Linked DNA regions of Homo sapiens: all the other regions are linked to region 3. Evidence: promoter capture Hi-C in human tissues and cell types (Jung and others, 2019). All regions are on one chromosome and are shown on one strand. Each heading gives the region's core, a stretch centred on a gene start or on the middle of the fragment in contact. The rest is flanking DNA. Distances are from core to core; before and after follow the strand shown. Region 1 has its middle 5.4 kb from the start of MIR4737. Region 2 holds the start of RNFT1 (ring finger protein, transmembrane 1). Region 3 holds the start of YPEL2 (yippee like 2).

What was found. The method cuts DNA at HindIII sites, captures the fragments that hold promoters and counts their contacts. A contact is called where the count stands out against the background at its distance.
Region 1: a fragment that was not itself captured here is called in contact with the fragment with the promoter of YPEL2 in region 3 in 1 of the 25 tissues and cell types used here (hippocampus).
Region 2: the fragment with the promoter of RNFT1 here is called in contact with the fragment with the promoter of YPEL2 in region 3 in 1 of the 25 tissues and cell types used here (heart left ventricle).

Annotation. Positions count from the first base shown.
Region 1 is chr17:60,035,616-60,039,727 of GRCh38, forward strand. No RefSeq gene overlaps it. Among named protein-coding and RNA genes, the nearest start is that of MIR4737, 5.4 kb to the right of the region's middle. RefSeq lists an enhancer at 1,406-1,535. The HindIII fragment of the contact is 6,449 bases long and covers 1-4,112 here.
Region 2 is chr17:59,963,375-59,967,514 of GRCh38, forward strand. It overlaps RNFT1 (ring finger protein, transmembrane 1), which reads right to left and starts at 1,366. Exons shown (of 9, transcript NM_016125.4): 1 at 1,234-1,366. The coding sequence starts at 1,289. RNFT1-DT (RNFT1 divergent transcript) reads left to right here and starts at 1,722. Exons shown (of 4, transcript NR_110815.1): 1 at 1,722-1,814; 2 at 3,029-3,093. It also overlaps the pseudogene TBC1D3P1-DHX40P1. RefSeq lists a silencer at 1,307-1,436 and an enhancer at 1,467-1,736. The HindIII fragment of the contact is 23,560 bases long and covers 1-4,140 here.
Region 3 is chr17:59,329,824-59,334,003 of GRCh38, forward strand. It overlaps YPEL2 (yippee like 2), which reads left to right and starts at 1,832. Exons shown (of 5, transcript NM_001005404.4): 1 at 1,832-2,001. RefSeq lists a silencer at 1,598-2,117 and an enhancer at 2,328-2,889. The HindIII fragment of the contact is 13,001 bases long and covers 1-3,296 here.

The DNA of each region.
Region 1 (4,112 bases), core at 1,303-3,802, 710 kb after region 3:
GCATCTACACATTTTGATTTATTGTATTTTTGTTTTTGTTCAGTTTTAAGTATTTTCTAATATCCTCATTTCCTTTGAGACTACCTCCTTTGACCCATGGATTACTTAGAAGTATATTATTTAATTTCCAACTATTTAGAGATTTTTGTCAGTTATCGATCTCTGGTTTAATTCCATTATGCTCAGAGACCTTGCTTTGTATTATTTCTGTTCTTTTAAATTTGTTAAGGTTTGTTTTATGGGCTTGGAGTGGTGGCTCATGCCTGTAATCCCAGCACTTTTGGGAGGCCAAGGCGGATGGATCATTTAAGGTCAGGAGTTCGAGACCAGCCTGGGGAACATGGCGAAACCCCATCTCTACCAAAAATACAAAAATTACTCAGGTGTGGTGGCACAAGCGTGTGGTCCCAGCTACTCGGGAGGCTGAAGTGGGAGGATCGTTTGAGCCCGTGAAGTTGGGCTGCAGTGAGCTGAGATTGCTCTACTGTACTCCAGCCTGAGCAGCAGAGCAAGACCTTGTCTAAAAAAGAAAAAAAATTGTTGTTTTATGATCCAGAATGTGATCTATTTGTTCTAGGGATTACTGAGAAAGGCAGGTTGGGGTGTCCAACTGTAATTGCTGATTTGCCATTTCTCTTTTCAGTTCTGTCAGGTTTTGCCTCATGGATTTTGAAGCTCTGTTGTTAGGTACATAGATGCTTAGGATTGTTAATGTTTTCTTTGAAAATTGACCTTGTTATCATTATGTAATGTCCCTCTGTATCCTTGGTAAATTTCCTTGCTCTGAAGTCTGTTTTGTCTGATGGTATGTAATTACTCCAGATTTCTTTTGATTAGTATTTGTATGATATATCTTTCTTTTTTGTCCTTTCATTTTTAATCTATACTATTTACTTAAAATGAGTTTCTTAGACACATATAGTTGAGTGTTGGGTTTTTTGTTTGTTAGTTTTTTACATTCAACAATCTATCTTTTTATTAGCATATTTCAACTTTTTAAATTTAATATAATCGTTGGTATGTTTGGATTTACATTTAATATTTTATTGTGTTTTCTATTTGTTCTCTATTTTTCCCTGTGTTTTTCATTCCTGTTTTGACTTTTCCTGCCTTCCTTTGGATTATTTGAATTTTTTGGAATTCCATTTTAATTCACTGATTTTTTTAACCATATCTTTTTGTGTAAGTTGAAAATGTAGTTGCTTTAGGGATTACAAAACACCTAGGTTTTCATAGTCTATTTAGGTTATATATTTAGTGCTTCACGTGAAATGTAGAAACCAGCCTGACCAACATGGAGAAACCCGGTCGCTACTAAAAATACAAAATTAGCCGGGTGTGGTGGCACGCACCTGTAATCCCAGCTACTCGGGAGGCTGAGGTGGGAAGATTCCCTTGAGCCCAGGAGTGTCTTCAGGAAATTAAGGTTCTCTCTGTTCTCTACAGGTCAAGTAGTTATGGACGGTATCCTGAACATTCTAATTTTGTGTTATGAGAATCTGGGCCATGTTGGAATCCTGTGTTTTTGCTTTGGCAGGCAATCGTCCTGGTTAGGTTCAGTCACAAGTTCCCACCTGCCTCCTGCGGGTTGTGGTTCAATATCAATTAAGCTTCAGAGCCTTTGCCGCGCTGTTCAGATCCGCCCCGTGTGTGCGCCACCCAGTGGCGGGTACGAGACTGGACAGTGCCTTGTCCCACCGTTCAGTTCTCAAAGCCTTTGTTCAGATCCACACATGGAATGCCTGGGCATGAGCCCAGGAGTTCACATACAACTTTAGGGTATTGCCTTCTTGCGTTCCCTCCTCTCTGAAATCTCAACACTTTACAGTCTCAGGGGTCCCTCTTTCCGGTCCTCTGGCTAGAAAGTCAGGGTTTTAACTGTACTGCTCTGCCCTACAGTTTCTGTGACTGTCTGCCTCCACGGCCAAGCATGGAAGGTTGTGTAAAGAGAAAAAAGCCATGGGCATGACTCCCTTGCTGTTGGGACCATTCTTCCTCTGGCAGAGAGATGAGTTTCCTTCCCTTGAAGTTCTAGGCACCTGCCTGGCTGCCACTGCTGCAGTGAGATTGCCTAGGGGCTGGTGTGGGGAGAAAAGAGACAGCAAACACAGGATTTCCCCGCTTTTGCTGACCTATAGGGGTGCTTACCTCTCTCCTAAGGTCAGAAACAGAGGCTCAGAGCTCTTTCTATCTGCATCTGGTATGCAATTCCAGGTTTTGGTTCATCTTTGAGTCCAGGCCAGGAGACCCCAGAGGGGGAATAAAATGGCAGACTTACTGCCACTTTGGTGGTGTTTAGAGTTCTCTTTTCCTTCCCTGATCTTCCTGCTACCACCTTGTTTTCAGAGCTAGCTGCTCCATGCCTGTGGTCCAGGATTCATAGTAACATTCAGTGGGAAAGACAGGACGGAGTATGACTGGAATGAGAATGGGAGAAGAATTTTTATTTAAAAAACAAAAGCATGGATTTTTAAAGGTTGAAAAATGCACACTAATTGGGGGAGAAATTTCTCTTTCCCTCCACAGTGTGGTAGCTGTAAGCCTGATTCCTGGCTTGAATTTTTTTATTCACTTTTCCAGATGACCTTTAGAATCATTTTGTCCTTAAATTAGCCAGGTGTGGTGGCACACACCTGTAATCCCAGCTACTTGGGAGGCTGAGGCACAAGAATTGCTTGAACCCATGAGCAGAAGTTGCAGTGAGCCAAGATAATATGACTGCACTCCAGCCTGGGTGACAGAGTGAGATTCTGTCTCGAAAAAAAACATCATTTTGTCCTTTAAAAAATTCTAATTTTGATGGGAATTTTATGAAATGTATAGATTTGGAGGAAAGTAGCCTTTTAATAGATTGAGTCCTTCAGTCTAGTAATGATATATCTTCTCATTTAAAAAAATCTTCTTTTATGACCACTGGTAAAAGTTTTTATTTTTTTTCCTCAGAATCCTTGCATAAGCTTGGTTAAATTTATTCTCAGGTATTTTTATTATTAAAATTTTTATTAAAAATCAAATTGGTTATTGCTGATATATAGAAGAGCTACTGATTTGGCATGTTTACTTTGTAACCAGCTGCCTTACAGAACTTTTATTGGTTTTTTTACTTTCTGAATATTGGTTTAATTACTTTCTGAATTTTGGTTTTATTACTTTCTTGGTTTTCTGCACACAAGGATTTGTGAATCCAATCACTCAGACTGGTTTTCTGCAAATAATGATAATTTGGAACCTCTTTTTGAAAAAAAACTTTGAAAATTTTGATTTTTGGTTTATTGAATCACATTGGCCATTAAAATTTCTTGTACAGTATTAGGTAATATTGGTGATATCATTCTTGCTTGTCTTGGTTCTGAGTTTTAGGGAAGTCCCTATTAAGATAGGTATATTTCATTATGCTAATGAATTATCTTTTTGAATTCTTTTTTAAAAATAATTTTGATCAGAAAAGGATACTGCATTTCGTCACTCTTCCAGCATCCATAAAGATGACCATTTGTATTTTCTTATTTGACCCACTAATGTGATTGCATTTTATTAATAGGACTTTCCTGCATTCCTACAGCAAATCCTGGTTGGTCATGGTGGAGACTGTAAAGCAATCATTCTCAAGGAGGGGCTTTTTCACGCAGTATGCCTGGAGAGAGGCTGCACCACCACCGCGTTCCTCCCCGATGAGTCCAGTGAGCCACGGCTGCGGGCTACGGTGTTGTGGTGCTCGGGTGTGTTGGAAGGAAATGGTAATTGAATGAGTGCTCATTTTCCAAGACTTTGGCCCCACCCCTAATATAATGTCCATGTTCCTGGAGCTGAGGATGCCTTCAGCCTAGGCTTGAGGACTCAAGGTGTGTACTAGAACCAGACAGACATTCTCCAATATCCCACTCTAGGGATCTTACTCCAATGAGAAGCAGAGAAATGCTAGCCCCGGGAGAAGACCTAGGAAAAGTGTAACAAGAGGCACCATCTGTCACTGAGCCCCTCTCTCTATGCCAGGCTCCGAGCCAGGTGCTTTACATTATGGGAGCTACTCCTGAACAACTGTGTGAGATACTGGTATCCCTTTACAGATAAGTGGTCAAGTGACTGCCCAAGGGTGTAGTCATTAAGTAGAG
Region 2 (4,140 bases), core at 116-2,615, 630 kb after region 3:
AGTAGCAAATAATCACAACAGATGAATTTTCAGGTTATTTATCACTGGACTCCTCCCTTCTCCCTTAATGCCAAGGCTCTGCTGCCCTACACAAATGATCTTTTAGGGAACATTTGCACCAAAAAAAAAAAAGTTGAGCTGCAAATGCTTCCAGTTCTCTAATGGCAGAAGGCATCCGCAAAACAGTCATGAAGTATGGGTACCCAGCAGATGTTAATGAGCACCAGTCCTCACTGGGTACTCTGGTACATTTACTTTTCCCAAATGGTGCAGTTTCATCTCTGATGTAGATTCTACATCAAAGAAGTTTCATAAGGAAGAGTGAGCCAGTATTTTTTAATGGTTGGAAATGTTAGGAAAAAAAACAACATTAAATCTTAATGCCTTATTATCATCATAGGTAACTAATAATAAACACTGCACTTAGGTGACCTACAAATTAGATTTTCTGCTCAAGCAGCTTTCCCAAAGCTCATAAAGTTTCCAATAATTAATGGTGCCACCAATAATATTACCTCCCCGCGCAAAAGAATGTTACCTAAATACATTTAAAGCATAGATACTTTGGAGAGTCACCACGTAATTGCTAGGTAACTCTTTAGTCTGAATAAGCAGTTACACAGTCCGCCCAATAAAATGCCACCGTCGGTGGTGTGTGTATTACGGAGGGAGGGGTGTGAGGAAAGAGGACTCTAGCAGAGAAAGATCTCTCTAATAAATGATCCAGTGTGGACCTCCTAGAAACAGAAGAACAGAGTCGGAATCCCAGCTGACAAAACGCAGAGGCTATCCCACACTGCCGTGCTTTTCCCGTTTGTCTAGGAGGAGGCTAGAGTTAACGTCAGGGAATGTTCTGTGTCATTCTATTTCACTCCCAGGACTGAACAGTGGTGCAGTCACCGTGTCTGGCGGTTTGGGTTTCAGTGCTTTTCACTAAAGGCTTTCACCGAGGCCCCGACGCCACGGGTGTTATTTCGTCAAAACTGAAGAGCGACGTTGGACAGCAGGCTTTCAGTGTCTTTTCTATAAATAACATAGAACCCTCCCACTTTCCTTCATGCACAGACAAGAAAGAGGAGAAAAAAGGGAAGAAAATTCAACACAACTCTTCCGGAATCTCCGAGGGCAGAGTTCTCCACCCACGTCCGAGCCTCGAGTGCCTATTCTCCCCAGAGCCCCCTGCGCCGCGGCCCCTCGCCGCCTCCTCCTCTGCCCGCTTCCCCCAGGCCTAACCTCTCATGACCAGAAGCGGACGGAGGTGTCGGGAGCGACAGCAAGAACAGCGGCATACACCGCCTCCAGCCCTTCAGTCGGGGCCATCAACCGCAAACCCCGCAAGCTCTTCTCTCAGCCCGGCGGCAACGGCGGCGGCGCGCGCGCTCCCCGGACGTTCTCACGCGCGCGCGCGCGCCCTGCCCCGGCTCCACCTCCTAGCCCCGCCCCCGCACCGCGCCGAGTGGAGAGCTCACGGCTGCCGGGGTGTTTTGGCAGCGAGAACAAGCGAGCTGCGCCTGAGAACGGCCTTCAGGCCTGGCGCTAAATAATAAGTCGTTGTTATGTGTTATGTATTTATGTGGCATCCACCACACGCCTCCGAGATCCTGGGCGTTTTGAGGTTAAAAATGTTCAGGCTTGGAGAACCTACCCCTGGAGGAGTGTTAGGGTTTCCGGGCTCGGATGTCCGCGAGCTTGACGCCTGACCTAGTTGTGTCTGTCTGGGCGGTGACGTTTGGTCTGAGCTGACCTTTCCTCACAATCGTGAATTTGGGCTGTGAGGATCAGGCCTTGTCAGAACCCGAGATGAGAGGAGAGAGGTGCGGAGAGTCTGCGTGGGGTGGAAGTAGAAGTTAGAGTTGAAAAACCTGTCTTGCGTGGGGTATAGAGGACCCTACTGCCCTCAAAATAATTATGTTAATCTAAAACTGTTCTAAAATTAAAAGGTTATTAAGAAAACGAAGTTTAGGTCGGGCGCAGTGGCTCACACCTGTAATCCCAGTATTTTGGGAGGCCGAGGCGGGCGGGTCACTTGAGCTCAGGAGGTAGAGACCAGCCTGGCCAACATGGTGAAACCCGTCTCTATTAAAACTACAAAAATTAGCCGGGGGCGTTGGCTCACACTTGTAATCCCCGCTACAGATACTCGGGAAGCTGAGGCATACGAGAATCACTTGAACCCGGGAGGTGGAGTTTGTAGTGAGCCAAGATCGTGCCACTGCACTCCAGCCTGGGCAACAGAGTGAGTGAGACTCGGTCTCAAAAAATAAATAAATAAAATAAATTCTGTTAATCTAAAACTGTTCTAAAATTAAAAGGTCATTAAGAAAACGAAGCTGAGGAGGGGAGTGGTAGCTCACACCTGTAATCCCAGCACTTTGGGAGGCCAAGGCGGGTGGATCACAAGGTCAAGAGATCGTGGCCACATCCTGGCCAATATGGTGAAACCCCGTCTCTACTAAAAATACAAAAATTAGCCGGGTGTGGTGGTGCGTGCCTGTAATCTCAGCTACTCGGGAAGCTGAGGCAGGAGAATCGCTTGAACCCGGGAGGCGGAGGTTGCAGTGAGCCGGGATTAGCCACTGCACTCCAGCCTGGCAACAGAGCGACACTCCGTCTAAAAAAAAAAAGGTTTAGGCCTGGCGTGGTGGCTCACCCCTGTAATCCCAGCGCTTTGGAAGGCCGAGGCGGGAGGATCACTTGAGGTCAGGAGTTTGAGACCAGCCTGGCCAACATGGCGAAACCCTGTCTCTACTAAAAATACAAAAATCACCCGGGCTTGGTGGCGGGCGCCTGTAATCCCAGCTACTCGGGAGGCTGAGGCAGGAGAATCCCTTGAACCCAGGTGGCGGAGGTTGCAGTGAGCTGAAATCGTGCCACTGCACTCCAGCCTGGGCGGCAGAAGGAGACCCCCACCTCAAAAAAAAACACATTGGCTTTCTTTTTTTGTTGGGGGTGGGGGTAGGGGTGGTCGGCGGTGGTAGAAGGCATACTTAAGTCTCTCTGTGCTTACTAATTTAAATCTTTCTGACAGATTTCTGGTTCAGTAAGGGTGAGAGCCAGGCTCCAGACTATAGTGAATTTTCCGAGGAGATATGTGTAAGTATTCTAACATTTCAACTATGTCGTGGATATTTTTAAACTTCAAAATGTGTGAACATTTAGGAAACAGGAAAAAAAACAGAATATAACATAATTCAGCCACAGCCACAATGCAGCACCAATATGTATTAGTACACTGATAATTTTAGTACATTTGGTACATTTGTAAATTTAGAATACCAAATGTAGTGTTTAAATTCTCATCTTGGCCAGATACTACGGTTCATTCCTATAATCCTAGCACTTTGGGAGGCTGAGGTGAAAAGGTCGCTTGAGCCCAAGAGATCGAGAGCAGACTGGACAACATAGAGAGACCCTGTCTCTAGAAAAAAATGTTAAAATTAGCTGGGCACTGTGGCAAGGGCCTGTAGTCCCAGCTACTCAGGAGGCTGAGGTGGGAGAATCCCTTGAGCCAGGGAGATTAAGGCTGCAATGAGCCGTTATTGCTCCAGTCTGGGAACAGAGTGAGACCCTGTCTCAAAAAAAAAAAAAAAAAAATTCTCCTTTTGACATACTCATAACACTGCAGGTATATTAGTCCATATTTAAAGTTTATTAGTGCACTTGGAGCTGCATTTCACCCAAGTAACTTGACTGAAAAGTGACATATTTGAAGAAAGAAAGGACTGAATTGATGAGAAGATTTGACTTGGTGACAGGCTATTATCTGATAAATTTTCTTTCCACTGGCATCTGGACTGTTGGAAATAGACATTTTAATTTTAATTGGTTAATTCAAAAAGCATTTTCCAAGTACTTACTGAGTGTTAAGAATAATACTAGATGTTGGAGAGAGAGACATAATAAAGAGTCTCGGGCCAGGCATGATGGCTCACACCTGTAATCTCAGCACTTTGGGAGGCCACAGCAGGTAGATCACTTGAGGTCAGCAGTTCAAGACCAACCTGGCCAACATGGTGAAACTCCATTTCTGCTAAAAACATAAAAATTAGGGCCAAGCACAATGGCTCACGCCTGTAATCCCAGCACTTTGGGAGGGTGAGGCAGGCGGATCACCTGAGGTCAGGAGTTCAAGACCAGGCT
Region 3 (4,180 bases), core at 582-3,081:
CAGTAGCCACCAGTCTTGTTACATAACATACCAATATCCTAGGGTGTTAAACTAATTCAGCATCTACTGTTAGGAAGTGGTGATGTGGCAACACAAATATTCGCTCACACAATATTGCGGAAACGTTGTAACAAACATGACTTTCTGGCCCTACTTAGAATTTCAGAGCTGGAAGGGACTTGAGATCATCCTATTTCAACCCTCCTTGTTTTAAACTGTGGAAACCTAGGCCTGGAGAGACAAAGAAACTTGCTCAAGAAGCAGATCAGGGCGAGACGGCAAGCTCTTACTAATCTAAAGAATCCATCACATCTTAGATTAAGGATTAAATGCTAAACAGTTCTTGTTTGTGATTCCTCTCATCTGAAAGCATTCCCCCCCCCCCCCCGTTTTAGACTCTCCAAACTAGTCAGTTGTGAACCAGGACATAGCCTTTGTTTACACTGAAACTGCAAATCTGAGGCTGATATGTCAGCCCCACAATACTGAGGTATTTGGGGTGTTTTGTTGTTTTTACTAACCTTGGTGACTGGATTCACATGCAATAGATATTAACTGAATACAATTTGGTTGACCAAGCATATTTTAAAAACAGCTGGGTGGAGATGCAGGTGAGCCAGCATTCTGGGTGTACGTGCAAACCAGTGTGTGGAAGGCGGAGAGTCAGCTGCACCTCCTGCAGCACCTCACATCCTGATGGCTGCACAGTAAAACACTAGTTTCCTTGGAGGAAGAGTTCCCAGAGGAACTGCGGAACCCCAGTGTCTTGAGCGAAAGGCAGGACCTGCTTTGTTCACCTTGTCCGTGCCAACATTCTTTATCAAACTGTCCTGTTTTCCTGCTGGGAAACTGCCCCACTCCACCCACCTGGTGCCTCCCTGGTTTCCTGACTGCCACGAGGTTATTTTTTAACCTGCTCTTCCTTGAAAAGCACCACCCCGGTGACCCAGAACGTGGACTCCTCCCCTCTGGTCACTCGGACCATCCCACTCTAATTACCGTCATCTGCCTCTGAAAGTCATGGAAAATTAGCAGCAATGGGGCGGTCTTCAATTCCACTAAGCCCCTTTCGTACTTTTAATTCGCCGAAATTACTAGCAGGGCAGAGAGAAGAGGGGAAATGCCTGGCTTCTGAGCAAGGCATGGGTGGGCTGGGTGCAACTAGCACTATCATTTTCTTTTAATTTTATTATTATTATACTTTAAGTTTTAGGGTACATGTGCACAATGTGCAGGTTTGTTACATATGTATACATGTGCCATGTTGGTGTGCTGCACCCATTAACTCGTCATTTAGCATTAGGTGTATCTCCTAATGCTATCCCTCCCCCCTCCCCCCTATCATTTTAAATTCAATTACCCGGGGCCTGAGGGCCACTTCTGGTAACTTAGGCTATGGCTTAGGGCGAGGTTTAAAACGTAAGAAAGGAATGACTATCTTGAGCCTCCAGGGAGATGCACTGCAAATCCCCCCGCCCCAAAATACAACCCAGGTTCTGGGAATCCCAGCCCTGCCCTGGGGACAAACCCCAAACTCAAATAAACGGCCTCCTCCTAGGCGCTGAGAGCCCACCCAGCTTTGGCACTCTGGGTCCCTGCCCTCCGGCAAGTTGCCGGGACGGGCGGGACCCTAACCAGCCGCTCTCCCCTAGCCCAGGCTGGGCCGGGCCGAGGGGTGGGGGAGTGGGCGGTCGGGGAAGCGGGGGGCGGAGTTCCGTCCTCTGATGATTGGCTCTGCGCGGATGGGCTGCGGCTGCGCCCGGCCAACCCGCGGCGTGTTGCTATGTGCTGAGCCGAGGGGATAGGTGCGGGGGCGCGTCCATCACGGGGTAGCCCCCGGCCCGGACCCGGAGGGATGCGGAGTGGCGGCCGCGGCGGTGGCGGAGACTGTGGCTTTAAGAGCGTGCCGGGAGCCCGAGCCCCAGCCGGGCCGCGCTTCGCCGCTGCGCACCCCAGCGGAGCCAAGCCCCACGCTGGCCGGACAGGGCCGCCTGTCGCCGGGTAAGTGCACCGGAGTGCGGCGCGGGCCGGGCGCGCGTGGGCGTGGGGCGCGCTGTCAGCTCGGGCTCTGGGTCCCCGGCCCCGGCCTCCGGACTCCCCCGGCCGGGCCTGCGCGGGGTTGGGGGTGCGGCGCCCTCGGTTCCGCGTGGGGTCCCCGTGGGCGCCGGGGACGGGGAGCGGCCGCCGGGCCACGTGACCGGTTTGTTTACAAACACTGCCGGGCCCGCGGCCGCTCGCGGAGGGAGCCCAAGGGCGCGGGACCCCCGGCCGGGGCGGGAGACGCGCGCCAGGGGCTGGGCGAGTCTGCGGGGCCAGGTTTGGGGCGGGGGTGCGGAGCTGGAATCGCCGCTTCCTCCTCCGCGTCGTCCCCATGGGTTCGGACTCCATGGGGTCCGGGTGGGGCTGGGGACGCCCTCCGTCCTCTCGTGACGCCGCGTTTCCCTCGGAGAGTCCTGGGGACACTTAGGTCCAGGGGCGCCGCCCTGGGGGCCTTCCACTGTGGGACTGGGCGCCCTCGAAATTTCTCGGAGCGCGTCGTCTGCCCCGACCCGGGTCGAGGTAACCGCAGCCGAGTTCCTCCCTGGCCGCGTCTCGGCGCCTCCCCGGTGTCCTTGCCAAGGGGGTGGGCGCGAGGTCCTGCCCGACGGAACGCGGGAGCCTCTGCCGCGAGCGCCTCCCCGGAGCTGGCGCTTAGGGGCGGCCCCGACCTTTCGCCACTTCCAGTTCACCCTGCTTGGCCGCCGACCTCCTCTGGTGTCTTTCCCGGAGTGGTGGGCTTTTCTCCGGTCTTGGGGGCGTGCGGGGGTGGGGGACACCTGTTCTTCTGGACTTCTTGTCCGGAAGATTGCTACCTCTGCCTTCAGTCTTAGCTGCGAGAGTTTAAAAAGCCAGGTGAGCGAGTGTCTTGTTTTCCTCCGCTTGGAGCGGAGCTGCACCCTCGCCCGCCCCCCAGTCCCGCCGCTGTGAAAGGCCCCAGAGAACTGCTCCGAAGCTTTGCTGGGGTTTTTGCTTTCTGGCCTCCTTGCTGATTTGCTGTCCTTGCAACTTGGGAGGCTCTTGAGTGAGTCCTTGCCTTTGGTGAATCTGAAGGCTAACGAGACAGCTGTCTTTTCCTCCCTGCCCTTCCTTCCTTGTTCTTCCTTGTTCCAAAGCATTGGGCAAGAAGGGTAGCGGTCAGCTTCCCTGTGCCTCACAGAGCATTAAAGATGCAAGAAGTTCAGTAAACCGCCTCACTGGCTCTGGGGTGGGACTTGATTTCACATGGTTATTGCTCCCCCGTGCTTTCCTGCCTCTGGGGGCCACAGGGCCTATGAATGGCTGAGTCTTGCCTCCGGTGAGGAACATTTTCATTCTTCTAAACTGTGTTTTGAGTGGCTGCAAGTTCTTTTCCCCAGAAACAGGCCCAGCCTGGGGAGAGCTGTGCAGACTTCCCCCTTGGCACCATCCCCTGTCCCCAGCTCCATGATAGGATCTCAGGCAGGAGTGCAGTGGGAGCCTCATCCGCTTCCTCAGTTGGGCTTTGCCGCCGCAGGTTAGCATTCAATGACAGCATTTCTTGGATCTGTCTTGATATTTCTGTGCTTGAACCAAAATCAAGAAGCTTAGAGTTAGGGGTGGAAAATGGAAAATAAACACCATGCGCGAGAAAACTGTTTTCCTTCTTCCCTCTAGGAGCATGGTTTTCAGACTTTGAGTGGGACCTGCACTGCATACAGGTCTGTAACTGAAATAAGTTTCAGAGAACAATAATTACCCTTACTCCCTGCAGTGTGCTCTGTTTTAAAGGTTTTTTTTTCTACTTCATTTAAAAAAATCAACTGCTGGTTATGACCCATTAATTTGATTTCCTGACCAAGCAGGTCCTGACCCATAGTTTGAGAAGCATCGCTTTAAGGCAGAGGTCCTCAAACTTAAATGTGTATAAAGATGACCTGGGTAGTGTTTAAAAATAGTTTGTCAGGCTACTCCGCAGATGTTTATTTTCAGTGGGCCACAGGAATCTGCATTTTTACCAGGGGACCTATGAGATTGTGATGCAGGTGCTTGATAAGAGCCCCTGATCTAGTGGGAACTGGAGGCAGTGAACAATGAAAGGTATTAACTTGGCTCTGAAGTGCAGTCAGGTATGTGACCCCATACTCTGCAATCCCAAAATCACTCAGCTGCCAATCACACTAGC